5 separate regions of the Homo sapiens genome follow, and all the other regions are linked to region 3. The links are contacts of gene promoters, found by promoter capture Hi-C in human tissues and cell types (Jung and others, 2019). All regions are on one chromosome and are shown on one strand. The core of a region is centred on a gene start or on the middle of the fragment in contact, and the rest is flanking DNA. Distances in the headings are between cores, read along the strand shown. Region 1 holds the start of HLCS (holocarboxylase synthetase). Region 2 overlaps HLCS (holocarboxylase synthetase). Region 3 holds the start of CHAF1B (chromatin assembly factor 1 subunit B). Region 4 overlaps HLCS (holocarboxylase synthetase). Region 5 overlaps RIPPLY3 (ripply transcriptional repressor 3).

Evidence for each region. Contacts are between HindIII fragments. The study calls those that stand out against the background at their distance.
Region 1: a contact is called between a fragment that was not itself captured here and the fragment with the promoter of CHAF1B in region 3, in 2 of the 25 tissues and cell types used here (dorsolateral prefrontal cortex and mesenchymal stem cells).
Region 2: a fragment that was not itself captured here is called in contact with the fragment with the promoter of CHAF1B in region 3 in 2 of the 25 tissues and cell types used here (dorsolateral prefrontal cortex and hippocampus).
Region 4: a contact is called between a fragment that was not itself captured here and the fragment with the promoter of CHAF1B in region 3, in 1 of the 25 tissues and cell types used here (dorsolateral prefrontal cortex).
Region 5: a fragment that was not itself captured here is called in contact with the fragment with the promoter of CHAF1B in region 3 in 1 of the 25 tissues and cell types used here (dorsolateral prefrontal cortex).

The regions. Positions count from the first base shown.
Region 1 is chr21:36,964,058-36,966,783 of GRCh38, forward strand. It overlaps HLCS (holocarboxylase synthetase), which reads right to left and starts at 2,612. Exons shown (of 11, transcript NM_001352514.2): 1 at 2,387-2,612. The coding sequence starts at 2,581. HLCS-AS1 (HLCS antisense RNA 1) reads left to right here and starts at 2,402. Exons shown (of 4, transcript NR_186434.1): 1 at 2,402-2,554. RefSeq lists an enhancer at 1,965-2,014 and silencers at 2,074-2,404, 2,125-2,454, 2,525-2,726. The HindIII fragment of the contact is 4,971 bases long and covers 1-2,726 here.
Region 2 is chr21:36,925,289-36,927,988 of GRCh38, forward strand. The region is part of intron 5 of HLCS (holocarboxylase synthetase); the gene reads right to left. Among named protein-coding and RNA genes, the nearest start is that of HLCS-AS1, 40 kb to the right of the region's middle. RefSeq lists a silencer at 2,465-2,657. The HindIII fragment of the contact is 5,011 bases long and covers 1-2,700 here.
Region 3 is chr21:36,384,077-36,386,776 of GRCh38, forward strand. CHAF1B (chromatin assembly factor 1 subunit B) reads left to right here and starts at 1,316. Exons shown (of 14, transcript NM_005441.3): 1 at 1,316-1,375; 2 at 1,984-2,186. The coding sequence starts at 2,061. RefSeq lists silencers at 1,148-1,517, 1,548-1,647 and enhancers at 1,767-2,268, 2,269-2,700. The HindIII fragment of the contact is 18,705 bases long and covers 1-2,700 here.
Region 4 is chr21:36,946,003-36,948,702 of GRCh38, forward strand. All of the region lies in intron 2 of HLCS (holocarboxylase synthetase), which reads right to left. Among named protein-coding and RNA genes, the nearest start is that of HLCS-AS1, 19 kb to the right of the region's middle. RefSeq lists an enhancer at 872-1,425. The HindIII fragment of the contact is 5,400 bases long and covers 1-2,700 here.
Region 5 is chr21:37,008,768-37,011,467 of GRCh38, forward strand. The region is part of intron 2 of RIPPLY3 (ripply transcriptional repressor 3); the gene reads left to right. Among named protein-coding and RNA genes, the nearest start is that of RIPPLY3, 3.4 kb to the left of the region's middle. RefSeq lists an enhancer at 1,327-1,386. The HindIII fragment of the contact is 3,348 bases long and covers 1-2,700 here.

The sequences.
Region 1 (2,726 bases), core at 227-2,726, 580 kb after region 3:
CTACTAAAAATACAAAAATTAGCCAGGCGTGGTGGCTCATGCCTGTAATCCCAGCTACTCAGGACGCCAAAGGAGGAGAATCACTTGAACCTGGGAGGTGGAGATTGCAGTGAGCGGAGATCGCGCCACTGCACTCCAGCCTGGGTGACAGAATGAGATCCATCTCAACATATGGGCATGAGATTCAGGTGTGTCCTTATTTCAGCCCAAGTAGACTGAGGTATCCCTCAAAAGTAGACCCAAGCAGACTGAGATATCCACCAAATCATCAACCTGATCATATTTTAAATCTCAAAATAACAGTAGCCAACCACAAATAAATGGTCAAGCTTTCCACCTGTAGACCTTCAACATCACAGCTTAAACCCAACAACTATTAAATTTACTATTTCAGGTCAAGCTGCTATGCTAAACAGTCTCATTTCCTAATAAGAAAAAGATACGAACTAGAATAGGAACTGTGATTTAAAGGCTACAGGGATGCAGAGCATGGCCATCCCATCTAGTCTGGAAAACTAGGAAATGACGCAGCAATATCTAACCAAATCTGTAGGCAAAGCTTACTGTGCAGAGTGACAGAGCAGAGTTACAGAATCCATGAAAGCACCAGGCCACTCCTACTCCGGCCTGCACAGGTAGGCAAGGGCTGAAAATCACTAGTTATGGTTAGTGTAGTTAACAGAAGGCCAGCGGAGTCATGAAAATGTTCAAAAGTAAAACTGTCCAAGAAAATCAGACATTCCCATCTCCATGTTTTTATATGTCCAAAATTTCTATTCTGACTTAAATCCTAAATGTAATTGATCCAATTTGGAAACTACTACAAAAAGCTCACCCCTCAATTTTTTGCCATTTTATTGAGTTATCTTTCTCAATCAGGTTAATTCCCAACGCTCTAAGCCATACATTGTATGTAATGCATGAACTTCTTCCCCTTTTGTCTGGGTAGTGTCAGTTATGTGGAGGTGGTACTAGTTATTTGCATAACTAGTACCTTGGGGGACCTGAGAAAACAGTCATTCATATTCAGTGTGACATAATACATATATGGTACTAACAAGAAAGAGTATTTTTTATTTGCTAGTGGCACAATTTCAACCCATATCTAAGCACAGCCTCCAGGCAATGTTCAAACCTGAGATAAGATTCAATTCCCCACAGGGGCTTTACGGTGTGACATATGCAGAAAACGTCATTTTAGTGCTAAAAGTGAGGCAATATTCCAGAAAACAGAGGAAAGGGACAAGAAACAGATTAAAAGCAAAACACGTTTAAATATTAATGAGAACAATGCTACCGATGTCCATGAAATTTTGTGCAGTACTGCACTGTGAAGCTAAGCCCATTTCCAAAAACAGCTGAATGGAAAGATCTATTGTTCCCTTTACAGCAAGGCAGCAGACTTTTTACAGAGATTAATTGACTGGCCCAAGTCACAAGGTAGGTGACAGAGTGGGCTGAACACGTAACCACCATCCTAAGCACTGGGTCAAAAAAAACAAAGGCTGACTGTCAACTGAAATTTAAAAGACGCAAAGACCATCAGTCGGGTGCCCAAGTTGGTGAATGATGCAACCAACTGACAGAAGATGGAGAGGGAAAAGGGCAGTTTTTGTAAATTTGGGGACATCTGACAAAAAGCTGATGACACAGGTGGGAGTTTTTTGTTTGGGATTTTTTTTTTTTTTTCTTAAGACAGGGTCTTGCTTTGTCACCCAGACTGGAGTGCAATGGCTCAATCATAGCTCACTGTAGCTTCAAACTCCGGGGCTCAAGTGAACCTCCCGGGATCAAGTGACCCTCCCGCCTCACCCTCCAGAGTAGCTGGGACTACAGGCGCGTGCCACCACGCCGACCTAAGTGTTTTTTTTGTTTTGTTTTTTGTAGAGAGGGGTCTAGCTATGTTGCCCAGGCTGGTCTCCATCTCCTGGGCTCAAAGCTGTCCTTCCTCCTAGGCCTCCCAGAGTGCAGGGATTACAGGCATAAGCCACCGCTCCCGGCCCGCCACAGCTGTCTCTCCTGGTTCACGGTCACCCAAACGCCGGCTCGAAGTGTGGGAGAGGAGGTTGGGGGCGACCCCAGGTGGGCACTGCTGGCGTCCGGCTGTCAATCCACAGCTCACGTCCTCACAGGTGCGCGCCTAGAGTCACGCGTCCAGCACCGCCCGGCTGGCCGGGAAGAGGCGACCGGGTCCGTGGTCCGAGTCCCGCACCTCCGGCCTCTCTCTGGGCCCCGGGGCAACAGCCCCTCCCGGGCCGCACAGGCCGCACTGAGGGCGCCACTCCGGGGCTCCCGAACTCCCGGGCTCCCGGCGGGGACGAGGCGCAGGGACGGGGGCACTTCCGGCTCGCGGGGCCCGGGTCGCCCGCCCGCCCGACCCGCCCACCTGGCTGTCGCTGACGCAGAAGACGCGGCCGCCACGGCTCAGGCACACGCGGGCGCCCGGGGGCTGCGCGGCCGCGCCGCAGAAGGTGAAGGAACAGCGCGAGGCACGCAGCCGCCGCACCGTGGCGCGCACGAGCTCAGCCGGCCGGCGACCCCAGCGCGCCCACAGGTACAGGTAGCACAGCGTGATGAGCATGGCCGCGCCGCCGGCAGGGCGAGCCCGCCTTGCCCGCCCGCCCCAGCGCCCCAGGCCCGGCCCCGCCCCGGCCGGAAGGGCCGCGCCGCCCCCCCGGGCCAGGCGGCGCGGGGGTGGGGACGGCGGGGGAGGCGGGGACCCGGAA
Region 2 (2,700 bases), core at 5-2,504, 540 kb after region 3:
TGGACACAGGACCCCTGCTAAGAGTCCAGCCGGCTTGTGTTTCTCAGGTCACCTACACACTGTTAGCCACCGTTGGCCACGATGAACACCCACAAGGTTCCCAAGCTTTTTCATTTTGGAAAAATTCTTGTGCTCCCCAGATCCTAAGCAGATGTCCCAGGCTACGGGAGCAATGCACAAGCTCTCTAGTTCCCCAAGGTAAAGGTGCCGACCTTCCTGGGGGCAGCACGTCCAGTTCCCCAAGGTAAAGGTGCCGACCTTCCTAGGGGTGGCACATCCCACCTTCTTCTGCTTCCTCTGGACTCACTGGGGGGACCAAAAGGGGTCCACTGGCAGGCAACTCTGCAGGGGTGGAGGGTGGGGGGCTGGCTCTGCCCCACACACAGATTCAGGTCCCAGCCGGTCCTAACCCGCCAGCTGCCCCTCCCAGTGAGACCCTGCAGAGCGTGGCAGCCTGTGCTTTCTTTCTGCCATTGCTCTGGCAGAGATAAAAAGGAAAATGGAACCCAGAGAAACAGAAACAAGGCAGCTAGCTTCTCAACTGGGAAAGAATTACATTTTCTCTAGAACATCAGATTCGATAGAAAATAAAATCTATTAAAATGTTTCTATAAAATATAAAAGAATTATGTTTTTTCTGGTGTTCTGTAAGGGAAAGGATTATGTTTCTTCTATAAAATCAGTGTTTCTCAAAAACATTCATGTCCCAGCACAGTAAAGATGTATTGCTGCTGACTGCCTGTCACCCACTGGTGGCGGGAAGATGTGGTGGCCACCAGGTGATCGCACCCCGGACACCCCACAGTGAGCCATGTGGTGTATCAGTCTCTCACCCACCAACATCTGCAGAGAGGAAGCCATGGAGAGGTCCCCATATATATGGTCTTGGAGAAACAGTTCAAAGGGCTCTGCCAAGAAACTGGAACATCCAAGCAGGGGTAGGGCACCCAGGGGTACCTTCCACCCACAGAAGCAAAGGGACAGCTTCAGCTCGGAGGCCCCCACACACCAACTCAGAGCTCACAGTTAACCCTGGAAGTCACAGCTGCCACAGGCCATGAACAAGAGTCACGTGTTTTACTATCAGAGCGAACCCTTTCTAAATAATATGTCAAATATTAATATTAACCAAAGTATCAACACCTATGAGATTCCCTGCCTTTTAACATTCAAGTGTGACCATGTGTGAGATGCCTTCAAAGTCCAATGACACGCAGTCATTTGTTTTTAGTTTTTAATAACTAATTTGGCTCATTATAAAATAACTCATAACAAATAACCAATTTGGCTCATTATAAAATAACTAATAACTAATTTGGCTTATTATATATATAATCATTATAGAAAATTTGGAAAATACAGAGAAAGTTTTAAAAGATTATTAAAATCACCCTTAAGCACTCCACCACAAATAAGTCCCATATATACCAGATTTCCTTCCAGTCTTGTTTCCTTTTTTTTTTTTTTTTTTTGAGACAGGGTCTCACTCTGTTGCCCAGGCTGGAGTGCAGTGGCACAATCATAGCTCACTACAGCCTCAACCTCCCTGGCTCAGGCAATCCTCCTGCCTCAGCCTCCCGAGTAGCTAGGACTACAGGTATGCGCCACCATGCCTGGCTAATTTTTGTATCTTCTGTAAAGAATACGAAATTCTGCCAGGTTGCCCAGGCTGGTCTCGAATTCCTGGGCTTGAGCGATCCACCTGCCTCAGCCTCCCAAGGCATTGGGATTACAGGCTTGAGCCACTGCACCTGGCCCAGTCTTCTTTCTACGGAGATAGGTGTGTGGTAAACGTGTGTTTGTGTGTTTGTTTTATGGTTTAACTTTTTGTCATTTTGCTGAGACCCAAATTTCAATCCTGCTCCTGGGAGGTTCAATTAAACGTGAAAGCCTTGGTCGGAGGAAGCCCAGCTCAGCCGCCCACAGCCTGCATCTCAGCCAAGCCCTGCTTCCTCTTGGTATCGTGCACAGTGACACTGATGGAGCCACACATGACTGGGTTTTATAGTGGGAATCACACGCTACCATGGTGTCTGGGTGTCGATGAAGGTCTCCGAGCACATCCTTCCCAAATGCCAAGGGCTGACCGTCGCTGAGGCGAGTGTTTTTTCTCTTTGGGTCTTGCTACTATTCTTTCCAGTTATATCACAGTAACGGAGAAGCACATAAATCTTCTGCGCTATTCGTCATAAAGAGCAAGTGTCAAGGCACCAAACTGTGTAAACACAGCTGGTACGCAGTAAAACTATTTAGATAACTAGCATATTTATTTTGTTCTTTCATATCCCATACTATAATAGTACCTAGGACACAGTAAACGTTGAATGAAAGATGAATATTATTAACTGGGACATTGAAATAATTTCTGCAGACCCAAAAGAAAGTGCCACCAATATAATGGAAAACTATAAAATTATACTATGTGAAACTGATATAGACAGAAAAAAATTAAATCTCTGAAGAACAACTTTATAGTTCTAGGGTCCTGTATGCGAGGCAGCCTAGCTCAGCAGCGACACCCTGTGGTGAGAGATCTTTGACTCCCAGCAACAGAGTGTCTTGCAGGGCACAGGAAGCAGAAAGCCAGCCCAGGCATCCAATCCCTAAGGCAGGCGATGAGCCAAATGGACAGGCAGGATTTAGCAGATGACTGGGTGCCAAGATCCTCTCCATGGAACTTAATTCCGTGAGGATGACTGA
Region 3 (2,700 bases), core at 66-2,565:
CTCATCAAGTTGGCACTGAAGTCGGATCTCTAAAATGTTCGCCAAGAAAGCCAACTCCTTCATGTACTTTTAATACTTAAAGCATGTGTTTTTATCTTTTAAATCCACAGTTCAGAGTCGTGACACTTCAAGAGGTGGGCAGATTATTCATTTGTGAATGAACAGCATTTATGAGAAATTTGGAGAAATTTTATGTTTGAGAGACACGAAGAATCCAGAGCTTTCCAAAACAGACTGATGATCACACCCACCGGGGAGTTTATGAAAATGCAAGCCCCTGGAGCACGGGCCTCTGCTGGATATTCGGAATCATGGGGCTGAGTAGGGCCAGGAATCTGTACTTTTAGAACAGCCATATTATCTAAAGTATATAGTCATTCCCAGTCCAAGCTCTGTAAATCCTGAAGAGAAAAATCTAAAAACTGCATATCCGGATTATGTTATTCTAGCTTCCTGTAGAAATCAGGCTTCAAGGAGCATACAGCCATTCTCATCAACATGAGACACGGATTTGTAGGCAATTTCTGTACCTTTCATAAAGCTGGCTAAAAGCATCAGCCGGTATTTATATAAGAATCCATGTCTGTTCTTTTTTTCCAAAAATCCTAGAGCAGTTGGCTCCTCAGATAACCCTGTGTGTTTCTTTTATCCAGTAAAAGCAGCGCATCCAGAGGTACTTGTTTCCTGGCCTTCTGCGAAGCCCACAGATAAATTAGGTCTCATTTGGAAACGTCCCATTTCGAAAAGCCTGAGGTATCTATCTCTGCCTACCGACTGATTTACAGCCTCACTTTAAAATGTTAGTCTGTTCTTAAAAAGGGTTTATAACTGCATCTACTATAATAATAAAATGTAAGCAACCTTGCGCTAGGTACTGAACAATTTCATAGCTTTGAACTCTCCAAAATGTTCTAGAAGCCAATACAGAAAACCCAAAAATCTCAGTTTTTGTTTGCAGAAGGGGCAAGAGAACCGGTTGTGTTAGCCCTCCAAGTGCCCAGCGCCAGCATAGGGTCTGTCTAACACACAGCCCAGGCTCTGTAAACCTTTGCTAAAAGAGCGAATCAACAAGGAATAAGTAATGGATAATAATAATAAATAATAATGAATCCATTCTTCCTTCGGTCGTGGGTCTGGCAGGCATAAATTCCGGCCGGGATTCCGACCCCAGGGCCAGAGCAGGACTCGCCTTGGCGTCTATGAGTGGGCGGGGCTTCCCTGGGGTACCGCCCACGTCGGGCGGGACCTGAGGGCCGCTGGAGGGGCGGGGCGTCTATGAGGTCCCGCCCATGCGGGGGCGGGGCCTGCGGCGCGCGGGAAGCGGCGCGCGCTGCGCGGGAGGTGACGGTGCCTCTGACTGTCCGGGTCCCTCCAGGTACGGCTTCCCTGGCCCGGGCAGCTCCGCGGCTCTTTTGGTCGCGTCGGTCCGGGCCAGAGGCCCTCGCCGAGGGCGGGCCCCTGGGCCCCGGGATAGCTCCGGAGCGGCGCGCGTTGGGGCGGCGGGGCCCCGTCCACCCCCGGCCCCGCGCGGCCTCCTCCCGGCGGCCTCAGTCCCAGCTTCCCGGGCCCAGCGCCCGGTCCCTGGGAAAGGCGGGGTTCTCCTCTCGCCCCGCCGCCCCGGTCCCCTACCCCGTTTGGCCCCCTCTTCCGGGAGGCTCCTCCCGGGGCGGGCCCCTCCCCGGGCTCTCAGGGCGCGCCCCTAGCCCCTACTAAGCGGGGACAGGCCGTGCAGACGGCCGGGGCCCCTAGGTAGCCTTTACCTGGGTGTTTCGTTTTGCTTTTCTGGATGTAGCGGCGTATCATAAACTTGTGGATGTCAGGACCCAGCGAAGCATTTTAGGTGGAGCTAGCAAGGTGTTATTGTCAGATGGCAACGTTAACATCCTTTCCCAATGCAGTGTGCATTTTAAATGGCTCCTGGCCCCTATTCAGCGCTCAATAACCCTTTGCTGCTGTTAACACTGTTGTTTAATCCATCACCAGCATTTTGCAGCTTTCTCCTGTCTTGAAGAAGTAGAACGGTGCCCGAGAAACGTTTTTCCCCTTCGAGACTCAGGAGGATGAAAGTCATCACTTGTGAAATAGCCTGGCACAACAAGGAGCCCGTGTACAGCCTGGACTTCCAGCATGGGACGGCTGGGAGGATCCACAGACTGGCGTCTGCCGGCGTGGACACCAATGTCAGGGTAAACTGGGGCAGAGATAGACATCCGGGAACACTGCTTGAAGCAATAGTTTTCATTCTTTTACTTAAAACCAGTGTCGGCTGGGCGCGGTGGCTTACGCCTGTAATCCCAGTGCTTTGGGAGGCTGAGGTGAGAGGATCGCTTGAGTCCAGGAGTTCGACACCAGCCTGGGCAACAGCCAGACATGAAAAAGTAGCGGGACGTGGCAGTGTGCAGCTGTAGGCCCAGCTACTTGGGAAGTTGAAGTGAGAGGATCGCTTGAGCCTAGGAGTTTGAAGCAAGCAACGATCACTCCACTGCACTCCAGCCTGGGTGACAGAGCCAGACCCTTCTCTTAAGTAAATGAATGAATGAATTAACGTATGTCAACAAACTAAACTACTTTGTCATCTAGCCCAGAATGCTAAATTTCCAGGGCCTGCGGTGAACAATGAAAGCAAAAGAGAGCTGCTTTCTTTTTTTTTTTTTTGAGACGGAGTCTTGCTCTGTTGCCCAGGTGGGAGTGCAGTGGTGC
Region 4 (2,700 bases), core at 161-2,660, 560 kb after region 3:
ACCTACCTTGGAAGGTTACTGGGAGCACTAAAAGGGATCATCCATAAAGTGCCTGGGCCACAAGGGTGCTCTTATGGTTCCAAAATATAAAGTCCTTTAGAGCAAGTAACCTCATGAGAAACCACATCATCCCTAGTGGGCAAAAACCGAACCTGGCAGGGAATGGGGAGGTGAAAAAAATCTTAGACATTACAACAGTTTGTGGCCCTCCAAGGCTCAATCCTATCCCTCAACTTTTTTATTTTTTATTTTTATTTTTTTTGAGACAGGGTCTTACTTTATCACCCAGGCTGGAGTGGTGCAGTCATGGCTCATTGCAGCCTCGACTTCCTGGGCTCCAGCAATCCTCCCAACTCAGCCTCCCGAGTAGCTGGGACGACAGGCATGCACCACTATGACGGGCTAATTTTTGTATTTTTTGTAGAGACGAGAATTCGCTATGTTGCCCAAGCTGGTCTCAAACTCCTGAGCTCAAGCGACCCTCCTGCCTCAACCTCCCAAAGTGCTGGGATTACAGGTGTGAGCCACCATGTCCGGCCCCCCACAACAAAATCTTATTCCTTAGTAGCTCATTTCTCTTCTCAGAGTGAACGTGAATTTAATTATTCTCCTCGGAAAAACAATCATGAAAAAAAAAAACTTGAGAAACATTGCGTTTGAGGGGAAAAGAATAAACGCAGGCCTTTATGGCCAACTCACTAACCTGTGTAGAATATTTGGACAAAGAGAAACTCCAGAATTTTCATTTAGCTCTACTTGTATCTTTCCTTCCACTTTACCACCTACTTCTCCCACCTCCTCGCAGACACACAGCCAAGGGAAGCAGAATTCACCTAGAGGGTCAGGCCCACCCAATGTTTCAGCAGAGTTCTACATTTCAGAAATGACATCTTTGATTCAGGACAGAGAGTTCGTTGATTTCAGCTTTGGGAATGGGGGAAAGGACGTCAGTTCAGGAAGATGAGAAGATAAACTAACACCGTGGCAGGGCAGACTTCTGGGATGAAGGTGCGTGGGAAACAGGGAAACGAACAGGGCAACCTCCCGCGGGAAGCTAAAGGCACCATTGTCCTCAGAGCAATCAAAGGAGGAGGAGAACCGCTCAGCCAATGGAGACTCAACCCGGAATTTAGCTGTAAAAACATTGATTTAGCCCCCTGCGGTAGCAGGCACTGGCAGTGTAAAAGGAGCCAATGATGAAATTCCCACACACCTCTGAAGAGGAATGAGGCAGGAGATAAACAAAGGAAGAGGAAGGACCGGAAGAGCCCAAAGAATACATCCACACATCCCGGATCAAGTTTCTCCACTCTGCCAACTGTTTCCTCACCTAAGTGCATTTCCGTTTTCTAGGAGCGTGGTCCATGAGCCATGGACCATGCAAACGCCTTCAAGCAGCGCTGGGTGCTCCGATCAAAGCAGAACCGCGCTGTCACTGATACGTCGTCCAGGGTGTTTGCCTTCCAGTGGATAAAGGCAAACAGGACACTTTAAATTTGCACTTCGAGATGGAAACAAAGGCATGGAAAAGAGAAGGGAAGTCAAGCAAAAGGCTCACTCCCAAAGATCAAAGCTAAGGAAGCCCTGGCTGTCCCTAAACAAAGGAGTTTCCTCCTATAATAGCAGCCAGCAGAAATCTGTTAAGTAACTAAAGCTCTTGACTTGATGTTACAATGTATGGCAGCAGGCAAGGCATATCTTCTCTGCTCAACTTAAAACTCACATCCAAGAAGCAGTCCGGGAGTGAAAGACCCCAGGTTAAACTAGCACAGGTGGCCCTGCCCAACAGGGGGCATTGGCAGGCAGCAGCTCTGCAGTGAGTGGGGAACAGAAATCTCAACAACCCACTGGTACCCAGAGTCAGATCACGGATGCTGCTAATTTTTCTGACTCTTGTTTCTCCTCTTCCAAATCATCTTAATTCAACGTGAAATTGTTAAAAAGCTCTAGTAACAAATTGGATGGAGCAAGGCTGGAAACGCAGAGGTAAAGAATTTGAAAATACAGGGCCAGGCGCGGTGGCTCACACCTGTAATCCCAGCACTTTGGGAGGCCGAGACAGGTGGATCACGAGGTCAGGAGTTCGAAACCAGCCTGGATGGCATGGTGAAACCCCCGCCTCTACTAAAAATACAAAAATTAGCCGGGCATGGTAGCGTGCACCTGTAGTCCCAGCTACTCGGGATGCTGAGGCAGGAGAATCACTGGAACCCAGTAGGCAGAGGTTGTGGTGAGCCGAGACCACACCACTGCACTCCAGCCTGGACGACAGAACGACACTCCGTCTAGAAAAAAAAAAAAAAAAAAGAATTTGAAAATACAAGACTAAAGGGAAAAAGTTATTTTTAACTTTTGGCTATCCTTGCTGTCTTTTGTGTTTGGAAATAGAGAGGATAAAGGAGAGCTACAAAATTGACTTTCACTTGATATTATGTAAAAAGACAGGCCAGATGCAGTGGCTCATGCCTGTAATCCCAGCACTTGGGGAGGCCGAGGCAGGAAGGATCGCTTAAGCCCAGGAGTTCAAGACCAGCCTGGGCAACAAGGTGAAACCCCATCTCTACTAAAAACAAAAGACTAGCTGGGTGTGGTGGCACACGCCTGTATTCCCAGCTACTTGGGAAGATTAGGTGGGAGGATGGATTGAGCCCAGGAAGTAAAGGCTGCAGTGAGCCATGATCATGCCACTGCACTCCAGCC
Region 5 (2,700 bases), core at 77-2,576, 620 kb after region 3:
AAAAAAAAAAAAACCGTAGTCGTTTCATGGGAATTATAAGGAATGTCCTCCCTGTTGCGGTTTCTTCTGCAAAGCAACAGGTCGGGAGGGGAGGGGAGAGGCTGCCACTATCGCTTGCCTTGGAGAAAAGCTTAGAGCACCATTAGCGTTGGGCCGGTGCCACAGAGCAAATAGGACTGAGCCCCATCTGAGGTGCCCAGAGTTGCCGTTAAAAGCCCCCACCCCGCGTCTGGCCCTTTCTGAAGCACTTTCAGCCCCGTCAAGCACTCCTGGGGTATCTCATGTTGTCTGAGCAAATACACTCAAGCAGAGGGCTTTGTGGGCAAGATTAATGACCTCCACCATTCTTTTGTTACTCTGCATTGGTAACTCAGTTGCTTTATACTTACTGATGTAATGACTTGCTTTCATAGAATTTACCTTTCCTTTGTTACATTTTAAAATATAAATTGATGACTTTTACTTAATTTTTTTTTTTTTGATGACTCTTAAAACACTGAAGAATTAGGCTGGGAAAGACCATGTATTGAATTTACGTAACACGTGTTATATGGACTAACGTGCAGTTATTTGTAATATGGTAAGAAAACTTGATTGTGGGAAAACAGACCTTCACCGTATTTTGATATTTACACGACTTTATTAAATTAATCTGAATATTGGGAATTTTAATTTACTTCAAAGAAGGAAGCAGATAAAAGATAAATCAATTAACAAGAGATGATTTTTAGTCCCCGATTATTTATACATATATCTAAATAATGTAAAATCCCTTCTTTTGCATTCAAACTTAGTTCTTAAACATAAAATTTAAAGGTGCTTGTGTGAGAATATAGATGTTTACAATTATCCAGTTTTCTTTTAAATGAAATGGATGTGGAGCCTATCAGTTTCTTGCAGGAATAAAAATACGATAGCACGCTCCCTAAGTAAGACAGATGGTTTTGGGTTTTGTTTTCTGTTTTGATAAGGCCGTTTGTGAGAAAAATTTACTTGCAGAGAAATGTTAAACGTTAACTTTCTCGCTGATCAGCAGGTAGCCTGTCACGCTGAAGTAGTTCTGTCCACGGATGTGGGTGTGGGAAGAGTGGTTGTTCCCTGGGGGCTGTAGAGCCCGCCAATCCTCACCCCTAGCCCGGAGCCCGCTCTTTGCAGAGCCCAGCTGGTTGCGCAGAGCGACCAGCGCCAGTCTGTGCTCTGGTACTGTGCACCGCCCTGGGTTCCCTGCAGTCCACCGACGAGAGCTGCCCAGCGCAGGGAAGGAACGCTTCTTGCTCAACAGCGCCCTCGCCCGACAAAGCAGGACAATTCCCCAGCTCCCAAGCCCTCTTCTGTATTTCTCAAAAATGCCATTGGCTGGAGTGGCGGTGAAGAGGACTAACGCCTGGTGACCTGTACCAGGGCTCCCGGCAAGCAAAGCAAAACTAGAATAAAACCTCAAGTAGGCCGGGCGCGTGGCTCACCCTGTAATCTCAGCACTTTGGGAGGCCGAGGCGGTCGGATCATCTGAGGTCAGGAGTTCGAGACTGACCTCACGAACATGGTGAAACCCTGTCTCTACTAAAAATACAAAAGTTAGCCAGGCAGTGGTGGTGTGCGCCTGTAATCCTAGCTACTCGGGATGCTGAAGCAGGAGGATCGCTTGAACCTGGGAGGCAGAGGTTGCAGTGAGCTGAGATCGGGACACTGCATTCCAGCGTGGGAGACAGAATGAGACCCTGTCTCAAAAACAAAAATAAAACCCAAAAAACCCTCAAGCAGAGGGAAGGCCTCAAGGCCCTGTACTCTGAGCAGCACGGTCACCCTCACCCACTTCATGCCCCTACAACACTTAGGGAGCTATCTCCCTCCCCTACCTGCACCTTTCTTGATCTCTGTTGCGTTTCCCTCCTGGCCACTTGCGGGCACTGTCAGGGAGGCAGTTTCCTGGAAAACATCAGGGACTGTTTGTTCTTCTGGGCCTGCCCTATCTGCCAGGCTCCCACTTCTTAGCCCTAGCCCGGTCAGAGACTCGAACGGGGAGGAGAAGGCTGACCCCCACTGAAAGCCTCTCTGCACCTGTCAGTCCTCAGGCTCATAGGAAAACACACTCGCACATATGTTAAACGCAGTGCTTGCGTTGTGCACATTTCTGTTCTCGTGTTTCATTATAAAATGTGAATATTTAGACATTTCCCTCAGCAGACAAAGGATCCTTTTGGAAAACAATCAGGATATTTATGGCATTTTTTTTTTTTGAGGCGGAGTTTCGCTCTTGTCGCCCAGGCTGGAGTGCAATGGTGCAGTCTCAGCTCACTGCAATCTCAGCTCACTGCAGCCTCTGCCTCCCAGGTTCAAGCGATTCGCCTGCCTCAGCCTCCAAGTAGCTGGGATTACAAGCGTGCGCCACCACGCCCGGCTAATTTTTGTATTTGTAGTAGGGACGGGGGTTTCACTATGTTGGCCAGGCTGGTCTCGAACTCCTGACCTCAGATCGTGATGCTCCTGCCTCCGCCTCCCACAGTGCTGGTAATTACGGGCGTGAGCCACTGCGCCCTGCCTGGCATAAAACTTTTAAAGCTGCATATGTTTGTGGGGTAAGGTTTTTAAAGTGGATAAAGGTGTGCTGAATGTTTTAACAGGGTCCAGTTAGAACTGGACGATTTACAGAAGTTATTCTTTCTCTGACACCTGCCACTGCCGAGTTAGGCCCTGTCTGAT